Linked DNA regions of Homo sapiens: region 2 is linked to region 1. The links are contacts of gene promoters, found by promoter capture Hi-C in human tissues and cell types (Jung and others, 2019). All regions are on one chromosome and are shown on one strand. The core of a region is centred on a gene start or on the middle of the fragment in contact, and the rest is flanking DNA. Distances in the headings are between cores, read along the strand shown. Region 1 holds the start of RCBTB2 (RCC1 and BTB domain containing protein 2). Region 2 has its middle 5.9 kb from the start of LRCH1.

The links. The method cuts DNA at HindIII sites, captures the fragments that hold promoters and counts their contacts. A contact is called where the count stands out against the background at its distance.
Region 2: a fragment that was not itself captured here is called in contact with the fragment with the promoter of RCBTB2 in region 1 in 1 of the 25 tissues and cell types used here (lymphoblastoid cells).

Annotation. Positions count from the first base shown.
Region 1 is chr13:48,529,341-48,535,896 of GRCh38, forward strand. RCBTB2 (RCC1 and BTB domain containing protein 2) reads right to left here and starts at 3,740. Exons shown (of 15, transcript NM_001268.4): 1 at 3,688-3,740. LOC124903174 (a long non-coding RNA gene) reads left to right here. Exons shown (of 2, transcript XR_007063795.1): 1 at 1-2,709. RefSeq lists enhancers at 2,056-2,225, 3,116-3,355 and silencers at 3,396-3,795, 3,906-3,955. The HindIII fragment of the contact is 15,092 bases long and covers 1-6,556 here.
Region 2 is chr13:46,543,956-46,550,511 of GRCh38, forward strand. No RefSeq gene overlaps it. Among named protein-coding and RNA genes, the nearest start is that of LRCH1, 5.9 kb to the right of the region's middle. The HindIII fragment of the contact is 4,868 bases long and covers 511-5,378 here.

The DNA.
Region 1 (6,556 bases), core at 2,490-4,989:
CCCTCTTGGCCTTGGCTCATTTCCACTTGAGATTGGTTTTGTTCAGTATTATATACATACATACACGCAGCATAATACAGGACATATTATAATGCAGTCAAAATTTATGTTTTATTCACATACTATCTCCTACTGGTACTTGTTAGCTCAAAACATCTTCCATAGGGAGATATACATAAGAGATATTAGCTCAGGCCAATTAGCAAGGCTGAAGACGTAAAAGAAACCCACTCTAATGTCAAATTAATGCTGAAAAATTATTATGGTTTAAGTTTCCTGGAAACTTTCACGTTGTTAGAATGTGATCACCATGTGAACTAGATACATGTTCCTTCCAGACAATGAAAGCTGGAAGTATCATCTCAGCCTTCCATTGATGGACATTATCAATATCCCTTACCAGGAGGCAAGCCATCCACTCCTTTGAAGTAAAATCTCCAAGTAGAACTCTCTTTTAGTCTTTAACAAGAGTCCTTAATGTCACTCTGTAACCCCAATAATTCCTGGTCTCCAATCTACCTTTTCCTGGACAATTTTAATCTGTAGCAATATTTATTTATTTATTTATGAGATGGGGTCTTACACTATTGCCCAGACTGGAGTGCAATGGTGTGATCATGACTCACTGCAGCCTCAACCTTCCCGGCTCCAGTGATCCTCACACTACAGCCTCCCAAGTATCTGAAACTACAGGTGTGTGCCACCATGCCTGGCTCATTTTTTTTTTGTTCGTTTTTCTGTAGAGACAGAGTTTTGCCATGTTGTCCCGGCTGGTCTCTAACTCCTGGGCTCAAGAACATTTGACTGCCTTGGTCTCCCCCAAAGCGCTGGGATTACAGGTGAGCCACCGCGCCCGGCCTGATTTGTAGTAATTTAAATCCAAGTAAACCTCAACAGTAGCAGTATCTTGGGGCATTTAAATTTTACTTTAACCAACTGATAAAACCAAACTTGAATATGACAATTTCATAGGGCATAAGCAAATTCCATGGACTCCTTACATTTATGGTCCTAGATTAATAATATTTTGGTGTTTGAACAGAGTATTTGTAATCTATGTAAGTAAAGGACATGAGGGGAAACACACTTTACTTTCTAAAATTATTCCTCTCCATCACCCTCTTTCTCTAAGCCTTCTTTAATTATGGATTGAAATTTAGTTAGGTCTATCTGGTTCATTCAGATACCTGTAAGAGAGGTCATTTATAGCATAACATCACACCAGGTGATTTAAGCTCCTCTCCTACACAGTTTCAAATACAGAAAAGCAATGACCATTCTTAGAAAAGATCTTCACTAGTCATCCACAGTCAGAGGGACATTTAGAAGCAATTGCAAAAACTGTGGAGACAACGTACAGTTTTTCTCAGCACAATTTACATAGATGTCTGGCTAGCTCTTCCTTGTAAAAGTCCAGTGTCTTCATTTGATGTGCTAAGTTAAACTGTAAACTCCTGAATAATTTGAACTCTTATTTAGGAAAAAAATGTTTTTTCACCTATATACTATAAAAAATGGTGACGTTTATCACAAGGGTCATGCCGTGGGCTCCCATAAAAGACATTGTAGAGCACGATAAAGAACGTTTTCTCCCAGAAGAACATTTATTTCTAAAACCCAGTTCCCCATGTTAAACATCACCTTTGGTTTATCCTTCAGACTCACCGTACCCATGATGTTTAAAATTGCAACCCACACCTGCACTCCCAATTCCCTTTCTCTGTTCTCCTTTTTCATTTTTTCATAGCATTTGTACTTTTCTAACCTAATATACAAATATGTTTTTTATCATTCTTTGCTAGAATGTAAGCTCCAGAGGGAAGGGATCTTTGTCTCTTTTGTTCATTGATGCATCCCAAGCATCAAGGACAGGACGTGATAGAAAATCAATTTTTGTTGAATAAATGAATGAATCTAGGTTGAGTTCAGTAAAAAAATATCTCTGGAGTAAGTTAGTTTCCAATTTTATTTCTACAATTAACAAATACCTTCTGAGCTTCAATTATGGTGGAGATAGATTGATCATACCCTTACAAATATATAATATCAGATGGTGATTAAGTGCTACAAAGCCGAACCAGCAGTACAAGAGTTTGGAGAGCCAGACATTTTAGGTGAGGTAGTCACCTCTCTGAAATGATGGCAATTGTTTCAAGACTTAAATAAAGTTCTGTGCCATGCAGATTTGCGAAGAGTGGGAAAGTGAGCATTGAGCATACTGGAAATACCAAACGCAGACGCCCTGGGATGAGGGTCCGCTTGGCGAGCCCAGCAAGAGCAATAAGGCCTGAGTGGTGGAAGTGGGGTATGCAAGAACGTATCATTCTTGTTGCTTTTACCTGCTGCTTAATAACACGCATGTACTGTCTAGCAGGAAATAAAGAGATTACGTTTCACCTAGAATACTCATTCTCTGAGCCTAAGTGGCTCTTCTATTCCAGCCCCCAAATATCTGTATCAGCACATCATATAAGATTACAAAGCACAGAGTAATGACATTGTTAGAAACTCTTCACAGTAGCCCCAGGAGTCACGAAACTGACTTAACTAAGACCCACTGTCTAGTAAGGTGTAAAACCCAGCAGGAACGCAATACTAGGAAGGTGCAAAGCCAGGAGGCTCAATAAACGTTAAACAGTGTCTGGGGGAAAGAGCAACGATCCAGAGCACTGTTTGTGAACTCAACCACTTTTATTCAGCTCTGACAAGGTAAGTCGCCAAGCGCGGTACAAAGTAGCTCCATGAAATGCGTTTTGTTATAGTCCTGGTCTCGAACTGTTGCAACATTTTATGTAATTTTTGCAAAGAACAAAAGCAAAAAGTTCATTCTAAATTAGCCTTCCAACTCAGTTCTTTCTCCGCCAAGACGGAGCACTTGGAAAGTTTTCAATGTCTGAAAACCTCTATTTCCAGGGCTGAGCAGAGCACTATGTTGCGGCTTAAGACGCTCGGCGATTTCTTCCCATCCCTCCGCAGTTCCAAAACGGCTTCGCCTAACAAAGTCAAACTTTTCGCGCTATTCCTGGACATCAGGACCAAATGTCGAAAGCATATACTGCCACTGAGTTAGTGAGCCGGGCCGGTGCCCGGGACCTGGGGTACTAGATTTATGGGACGGGAGCCTAGGGGTCGAGGCCACAGAAATGAAAACATCGGCAACATATGCAGTGCAGCGAGTGGGTTAGGAGGGAGAAACTTCAGGCAGGACGCTCCCTCGGGACCTGTGACGCCCCCCCAGCCACACCAGACGTGGGAGCTTAGGATGAGAGCGGCCTCCGAGCAGATGATCACCCTGGAACGACGCCAAACGCGACCCCTACCAGAGGACTCGCGCATGCGCAGCGCAGCCTGGGCCGGCGGCCTGGGCAGGATGTAGTCGCGAGCAGCGCACCGGGCCCACGCCAGCGGAATTGCGCATGCGCAGGGCCGCCTCTGCCTGCGGCCTGGGCTGGGTGTAGCCCCGGAACCTAGCTCTTAACTCCCGCCAGCAGTTTTACGCATGCGCGACGACGCCTAGGCCTGTGGCACGGTCGCGGCTCTAGTCCCCTGGGCCCCTCAGCTGTCTCTGGCGGGGAGGTCGGGCCGCAGGGGCGGGGAGGGGTGGCCTGCCCCAGTGGTACCTGACAGCATCCCACGTCACGGCCGCGATCCCCCTCGGCCTCCCACACCACTCCTCCACCCTCTTACCTCCTCGCAGGCCGGAGCCTTGTCCGCTCCGCCTCCTGGGTAGCGGTTACTGCACGGTCAGGGGCCCGGCGCCGCGATGAGTTGGCGCCTCCCCCTGAAACGGCCCGGCCTCGGCGGGATGCGCTCGGGTGCCCGGCCGAGACGGAAACGAAGGGAGCGCAGACAAGAGGAGGGGGCTGGCGACGGCGTCTCGCCCCTCCTCTCCTCCCTAGGCTGCCCACCGCCGCCCCTCCCCTTTCTCGCAGACGCCCCCTCCCCTCGGAGTTGACCCCCGGGAGTCTCCCATTGGGGCCGCCTCCGCTTTTCCAGGGAGTTCCTCCGTGGGTCACCCCCACCTTCTCCAGGGTTATGTTCTCGCAAATTTTGGGAATTTGTGGATACCCGACCTAGAAGGATAAGGCGTGTATGATGCTGAGAGCAACCTTTTCCACAGCCCCTCTCCTCCAGCCTGCCCCAGCTTTTCTTCTATTGCTGGCCCCTCTATCTGGGGGCTCCGATCACTTCACGTTTTCACCCCATTGCTGTGGGGCGGAAGTCTTGTAGCCCCCTGTAGTACAAATGCTGAAATAATGAGGATGTGTGCTGGGGGGTTCAGGGGGATGACCTCAGTTACCTTGGGGCCAAGGGCTTCGAAAACAGCCACCTTCTCCCCTTATGATTATATTTTGCAGTAATTTATTATATTACACTGCACTTCTGTTGGCCTTTGTAGATTTAAGTAAAATGCACCACAACTTTGCAGTGTGCAATAATTTCTTCCACTGCACTACACTTAAATTGACCTGAGTGGGTTTTGGTTAAATGCTCAACAATTAAATGTTATTAGCTATTCCTGTGAAGTAAGCTACTTGCTTTTATACTGGCTGTTTCATGAGGACACTGGTTCCTCTACAGTGTAGAGCCAAAAGTAGTAAAGCCAAAGAGAAAAACTAACATTCCAAACCACAGTGACCGTGTCAGTCTGTTTCGTCTGGCTTTTGTCATTTCTTCGGAAAAACATCATTCTAAAATGTATAACTGCCTTTCTGCTACATAGGGCAGACATTTATCTCTATTCTCTGAGCATAGCCCACTGAGCCTCAGAAGGAGGCACGCAAAATGGTACACAGGTATTTCTTGTAGAGCTCTAAATGGAAGAAAAAGTAAGTATACATTAACAGGAAGTTGCAGCGATAGTGCAGAGAGGCATCGTGTGCCTGCCCCAAGTTTCTCCACTGGTTACATCTTATCAATGAAAGAAATTTATGAGTTAAACAGGTTTGCTCTCAGAAAAAGCTCACTTCAGTGATGATAGCTGGCATTTTTTTTTTAAGCACCTATTGTGTGCCAAGAGGTTTATCTTATTTGGAGCTCACAATAATCCTGTAAGGCAAGGATTATCCTTACTTTACAGATAAGGCAACTCAGGCCCCAAGAGATTAAGTTTCTTTCATCAGCAACCATGGCAAGATCTGTTTGCCTTGCGCACTTGGTCTTTTACGCATTATGGACAGCTGAAGTTCATGCAGGCCTTACGGTGTGCTTCAGCTGAAGCCTGACAATTAGCTAACAATAAAAACATGTCTTAGTGTTTTGAAAACTGTGATATTATCTCAGAAGTTAAAACTTTAAAATATACCTATAAAAGAATGTGTTTCACTAAAGATTTTAATTTTATATGGGTCCAACAGTTTTTCCCAGGGCGGTCAAAATTAAAAGTAAGAAGTAAAAATGTCTCCATCACATATAAGTTTCCTTCAACACTTTTGGATAATTTGGTCTACTAAACTTCACTGTATTGCTGAATTCAGTAGACTAAAAATTTAGACTCTGAGAGAGTATAGGTTAGTATTTCAGGAGTTAAAGTTCCCATCACCACATCTCCCAAGTTTACCTACATCTGTACCTGTGCACTCTATTCCTTCCCATTACTGGGAATGAGCTGTGCATGCTCTTATTTAAGTTCAACTCTTCCACCTTTGTATTAGATCCTGTCTTCCTTACAGTCTCAAGGTTTTCACTCAGGTAGTTGTCACCTCTCAATCCTACATTATTAATTTTTGTATCATTAATTTTTGGATCATTCCCATAAGCATATTAACATTGCGCAACATTTGCCTATCTTTTAAAAAGTTCCTTGATTATATGTCCCCTATCAGCTACCAATGTGTTCTCTGGTCTCTTCCAAAATGTCTTAAAAGAGTCACTTATACTAACTGTATCCTCATCCCCTCCTCCTATTCATCCTCTTTTTTTTTTTTTTTTTTGAGATAGAATCTTGCTCTGTTGCCCAGGTTGGAGTGCAGTGGCGCAATCTCAGCTCACTGCAACCTCCACCTCCCGGGTTCAGGTGATTCTCATGCCTAAGCCTCCCAAGTAGTTGGAACGGCAGGTGTGTGCCACCATGCCCAGCTAATTTTTGAATTTTTAATAGAGATGGGGTTTCGCCATGTTGGCCAGAATGGTCTAGAGCTCCTGACCTCAGGTGATCTATCCACCTCAGCCTCCTAAAGTGCCGAGATTATAGATGTGAGCTATCATGCTTGGCCCTCCTATTCATTCTTGAATCTATTTCAGCCAGGCTTTTGCCCCTACCCCTCCATTGAAACTCCTCTTGGCAAAGTCACCAATGACCTCAGAATTGCTAAATCAGTGGTTACTTTTCCATTATCTCACCTGAACTATCAGCAGCATTAGAAGCATTTGCTTACAGCTGCCATCTTGAAGCATTCATCTTCTTCTGTTGGCCTTCAGGTGGCCCCTGTCTCTTGGTTCGTCCATCTCACTGGCAGCTCCATTGGCTCATCCACCACTTCTCCAGCCATTGGCATACCCAGAGTTTGGTTCTTGGACTTCTCTATCTTCTCGTTCCCTTAGTAATTTTATTTCA
Region 2 (6,556 bases), core at 1,695-4,194, 2.0 Mb before region 1:
AGAGGGTTCAGAGAGTCTCTAATACCTTTGAAATTGTATAAAAAACTGTATGTGTAGGATATAGTGTTAATTTTTCTAGGGAGAGGCTACATCTCTTGCCAAAAATCTTCAAAGGATTTGTCACTCCCCCAAAATATTTTGCAGCTACTGATCTAGAGGTTCAGGGAACCCTGCCTTTCTGATTATGGCAGAAAGGATCCTGAAAGGTCATTACAGGAAGTAGACTAGCTAATCACGGCCTTGTATTATGCCTGGACTTTGGGTACTCAATATTGCCTCTCAGCTTGACCAGGGTACAAGGCTTGTCCTGTCCCAGAGACAACTAGCAAGAGCATCTCATGTCCCTTGGACCAGCTCTGACTACAGTTCTTACCTAGCGTCAGCCCTGTACGCCAGCACCCTAGACCACAGCCCTTTAACAAGCCACTCAGAGTGAAAGCAAATGAACCACTGATGGAAGGACACAAGCAGATCCCCAAGCATGGCAGGTAGTGACATAATTGGTGACTTCTATTCCCACTAACAGGGACAAAGAAAAAACACTGTATAGGAAATAGACACTTGAGTTTTAAGCAACATTTTGCACTGGCCAGATGCATGACATTGGGTAGTTCACCTTCATGCATTTATTTCAGTTTCCCAATCTGTAGTATGGGGAAGCTGGGCTAGATTCCTTAGGCCTCCCTGGCTGAGGAGCTGACAGGCTGTGTCTGAACTCTGGTGTGTCCCTGTCTACAGAAAGGTATTTGGAGACAACTGGTCCTTATTAGGAGCCAGTTAATTTTTCTATCTTAAACACCAAGTTATATGTTTTAGAGGAGTATTTAGTTTTGCAGTCCATAGAAGTATTATGAGCAAATAGGCACATTCAAGGGGAAAAACAGCACTTGTGGGTAGCATCAATAATTCAGGGACAGGTTAATATGCTAATTAGGGCTGAAAACTAAAGAGTAAATATTTCTGAGTACAATGGGCACCTGATCTGTGGTTTCTGGTTTGAATTGTTCACAAATCTCCCTTCCCACTGCCAACCTCCTGTTCTGCTCTTAGCAGATGGGATATATTCAGACTCTTGGCCCATCAGCATACAGTCCCTAAAGTGTCTGAACTGTTGCTTTGGCATATTAGTGTTCTTACTCAGGTCTCCTGATCTTTTAAATCCAGGATCAGAGGAGGCGCCTGAATTCTCATCTCCTTTCTTTCCCTGGATGTCTCACCTGTGAGTGTCCAGTCCATCCTTATCCCACTTTCTCCTCCTGGGCTCACCAATCTTACCTTCTTCACGGGCCTTTTCTTTCTTTTTCTCCTTTCAAATCTTCTCAAATTTTCCCCATCTTAAAAACTAAACCAGTTTTCTCTGCTTTATTTGTTTTTTAGTCAACTATTAATCTTTTTCTTTCTTCTAGCCCCCAAACGCTTGGAGTAAGTAACTTACACCTACTCTTTCTACTTTCTTTGCCTTCTCCTTACCTCTGCAGTTTGGATGTTGATAAACTGTCCTAGAACTACTCTCTCAAAGACAGAGGATTTTCTGTGTCCCCCAAGTCTTTGCCTCTTGCATTTGCTATTATTGCAGGACAAGGACAGAGCTCTCTCTGTTGCAACTCCAGTACCAAACATTACCTGTGAGTTAGAAGCGGTTCAGCAAATCTTTGTTGAATACAGACTCTGTGGTCTTTTCCTTTCAAAAACTTCTTGTCCATCCATCCTTATGCATGCCCTGTGCTCCATCCTAGTCCAAGCACCCTTTGTCACACCTCCTATACCTGGTAACACTATTCTGGCTTGCTTCTTCAATTCCAATTCATCCTGCAGAGTATCATTTCATTTACATCTTCCTTGGGACTCACCCATGACTTCAATGACTATTGCTGCAAACTCAATCTTCTGAATTGGTATTTTTAAAATGTAATTAATTAACTGATTTATTATTATATTGATTAATTATAGATGCACAAGGTAAAACTGAACAAACAGATATCTAGAGAAAGAGAAGTCTTTCTCTCATCCCATTCTACCAGTTTTCTTTCCCATAAGCCATCACTGATAGCAGTTTCTTGTCCCTCCTTGCAGAGACTTTCTGTGCTAGACAATTGCTTCCTGATTGGACTATGGCTCACCATCATGCCTGGGGCCCTGTCTTGAATCCTAGCCAGTTGGGCTAGGGTCTTGTTTACCTCCTGGGCATTCTCCCATTGTGGGCTGTGCCATACATCCCCCCAGGCAATGATTTATGATTTGCTTCAATTGGCATAGTCTAAGATGATCCTTGCTCTTAGAAGAGTATCTGGGACTCCAGCGGCTGTGACCAGACATGCAGGTAACACTCCCCTGTGGGTATTATGAGGTATTCCAACACTGTTCACCCTCACTGGGGTGGACTTCCTTTCTGGTCAGTCCTCTATCCCAACCACGCTAATTCTGGCTTTACTCTCTCTGCAGCAACCAGAAATCGAAGAAAGTCCTAACTGGTTTTACTTTTGAACTGTGGTGAGTTGTGCTACGTGTTGACCTGATTTGCCAACAGATAAAATGAGATGACCATGTTCCTTTGCTTCTGCACTATTGCTTCACTGTCTAGCAGGACCTCTCTTTAGATGTCGCACTGGCAGGATTTGAGAAATAACTTGGGGCGTTAGACAGCTAATGTTTAAACCCTGTGTATGTGAATAGTGATAGCATCTGGGTATGGGAAGCTTAACGCCATTGTAGCCAGAGGGCATTTTCTGCTAAATCTGGAGAGAACAACCACTCTGGGAGCCTCTGACTAGACCCTAATGACAGCCTTAAGTTCGGAAAATATCCCTGTAATGATATCAAGAGTCTTAAAAACGGCCTCTGGGGAACATGAAAATTACTGCTTTAGTTTGATGCAAAGTACCTTAACTACAAATAGGAAGACTTTTTTGTCCTTTTAAAGTCCACCTAATGAACAACAGGCCTGAAAAGGTACTTAAAATATTGATTTGGAGGTACATTTTGATCAGTTGAACTGCGATATAATTGGCGATCGAAAGATGACACATCCATGAGAGAGACTACCCCAGTCCAGGGTTTCTCAAAGTGTGAGCCATGGATAACAGTCTTGCAAGATGAGATTTATTGGTCAAATATATAGGAAAAAACTGCAGTGAATCATCTTTCCTTCTTCCATGTTCACAATGTACATTAGCATATCAAGGATTCAGAGAAGTGTGTTAGTAAAACAACTTCTAAACTTTTAAATTAACCCTTTGTCTCCCAAACTTATTTGGCGAAAAAATGTTTTATGCATAGTGCCTGTTAGCAGCCTAAAGAACTAAGGTTCAGAGACACACACACTGGATAATGCTGCTTCAGTTTATTCATGCAAGTTAAATGATTTACGGTCATGCGATGCACAATGACGTTTTGGTCAGTGACAGACTGTATGGAATGATCGTCCCATAAGATTATAATACCAAATTTTTACTGTACTTTTTCTATATTTAGATATGTTTAGATACCCAAATGCATACTTACCACGGTGTTACAATTGCCTATAGTATTCAGTATTGTAACATGCTGTACAGGCTAGCTGCAATAGGCTATACCATATATAGCCCAGGTGCATAATAGGATATACCATCTAGGTTTGTGTAAGTATACTCCATGATGTTCACACAACAAGAAAGTCATCTGAAATGTACTTGTCAGAATATATCCCCATTGTTAAGAGAGACATGACTATATTAATAAACAAATAACTGGTTCCTCTAAATAATTCACATATTCATCATATTACAAACCAATAATACAATATGCCTATGTTATAAACCAATAACATAATATAATGAACTGGTGAAACATTTAGGTGAACCAGTTGCAATAAAGCTGTTTTTTAATATTATCTGTTATCTAACATTTACATTTGCTTTTTTTTTAAAGTCAGGTATTTAAAAATCGATTTTCCTTTTTTTTTGAGATGGAGTCTTGCTTTGTCACCAGGCTGGAGTGCAGTGGCACGATCTCGGCTCACTGCAATTTCCGCCTCCCGGGTTCAAGCGATTCCCCTGCCTCAGCCTCCCGAGTAGCTGGGACTACAGGCACATGCCACCATGCCTGGCTAATTTTTTTTATTTTAGTAGAGACGGGGTTTCACCATGTTGGCCAGGATGGTCTCGATCTCCTGACCTTGTGAATCCGCCTGCCTTGGCCTCCCAAAGTGCTGGGATTACAGGTGTGAGCCACCGCACCCGCCCTAAAAATCTATTTCTTTATAAGTTAAAGTCTTATTAGTTGATGCCTTTTGGTCCTTATTTTCTAGTGAATTCACCTGGAAGCCTCCTAAACCTCTGGCAGGAACCAGAGGGTTTGCTACTGCTCACTGATGTTTTTTCCTTACAACTTACTTAAGGAGATCTCAACCTCCTTAAGCCAAAATATTCTTTTATTATTATTATTTTTATTTCAATAGGTTTTTGGGGAACAGGTGGTGTTTGGTTACCTGAATAAGTTCTTTAGTGGTGGTCTCTGAGATTCTGGTGCACCCATCACCTGAGCAGAGCACACTGGACCTAATGTGCAGTCCTTTCTCTCTCACCACTTCCCACTCTTTCCCCCAAGCCCCCAAAGTCCATGTATCATTCTATTTTTTCTTTTTTTAGACAGAGTCTCACTCCGTCGCCCAGGCTGGAGTGCAGTGGTGCAATCTCAGCTCACTGCAACCTCCGTTTCCCAGTTCAAGTGATTCTCATGCCTCAGCCTCCCCAGAAGCTGGGACTCCAGGCGCACGCCATCACACCCAGCTAATTTTTGTATTTTTAGTAGAGATGGGGTCTCACCATGTTGGCCAGACTGGTCTCAAACTCCTGACCTCAAGTGATCCGCCCACTTCGGCCTCCCAATGTGCTGGGATTATGGGCGTGAACCACCATGACCAGCTGTTGTATCATTCTTATCCTTTTGCATCCTCATAGCTTAGCTCCCACTTATAAGTGAGAACATATGATTGGTTTTCCATTTTTGAGTTACCAAAATATTCTTTTCATTACAATCAGCTTCTAATCCACAGTGGTCCAAACCAAGTTTTCCTCAGGTTTTTTCAAAATCCTATTATCACTCATAAGTTCTAGGTCAGAATGTTGTCTCTCCGTTATACAATTGGTTATATTATCTCATATAATTTCTTAAAAAGCATTGATTTAAAAACAAAAATCACACATAAATGAAAATTGACATTTCATAAGACCATGTACACATATTTATGAAGACAGAACAAGGACTAAAGTATAGGTTATTGATTTATCAAGACTGCTCCTCTATTGTCATTCAGAGAATGGTCAAGAAGCCAGCTTCTCTGAGAATCCTATCTTGAGGCATAGATTCTGCAGTTTCTTTATTCCGCAGGAACTGCTGTAGAAAGGAGTACTTAAATAAAGTCTCCCTGGTCTAGGAGCCAGAACTCCACCTTAATCTGGGAGAAAACAGGGAAATAAAGTGGCCAGAGGCTAGTAGCTACTGCTTTGTTGCTTCAAGAGAAGGAAGTATGAGCCTCTATGAAGGGGTTGAGGTTTTTTGCTGGGGACTTTGGGGCACAGAATGTAAAAAAAAAACTGCGTCTGGACAATAGTCAGCTATGAAGTATTTAAAAATGTAAAGGGGCTGGGTGCAGTGGCTTGTGCCTGTAATCCCAGCACTTTGGGAGGCCGAGGCTGGTGGATTACCTGAGGTCAGGAGTTTAAGACCAGCCTGATCAATATGGTGAAACCCCGTCTCTACTAAAATACAAAATTTAGCCCAGCATGGTGGTGTGCAACTGTAGTCCCAGCTAATTGGGAGGCTGAGACAGGAGAATTGCTTGAACCTGGGAGGCGGAGGTTGCAGTGAGCCGGGATTGAACCACTGCACTCCAGCCAGGGCGACAGAGCGAGACACTGTCCCATAAATAAATAAATAAATAAAGGGGCCAGGCACAGTGGCTCATACCTGTAATCCCAGCACTTTGGGGAGGCCAAGGTGAGTGGATCACCTGAGGTCAGGAGTTTGAAACCAGCCTGGCTAATGTGTTGAACCTGCATCTCTACTAAAAATACCAAAAAAAAAAAAAAAAAAAAAAAATTAGCCAGGCATGGTGGCAGGTGCCTGTAGTCCTAACTACTCGGGAGGCTGAGGCAGGAGAATCCCTTGAACATGGGAGGTGGAGGTTACAGTGAGACTCCATCTCAAAAAAAAAAAAAAAAAAAAAAAAGAAAAGAAGATTAGTTGATGTGAGCACAGCTTAAGAAAATGCTTGAAAGCAGGTGACTAGACTTATGTATGACTAACTTCCTTTTAAGAAAACCAAGGGTCTCAGCAAGTACAGTAGTTCCCAGAGTTTTTGATTTCAGAGATAAACAACATCAAAATAATTGGTAACTGACTTTAGTAACCTCCTTTTGTTATTTTTTGAAAAAGGATACTTAAAAAACACTACAATTTATTGTTACCATTGTTTTGGTTTTTTTTTTTCATCAGAAAAAAAAATAGTGAAGGCACAGCCTCACAATTATATATAATTTTTGAAATTAAATACATTCAGGTTCATGAAAAACTCAGG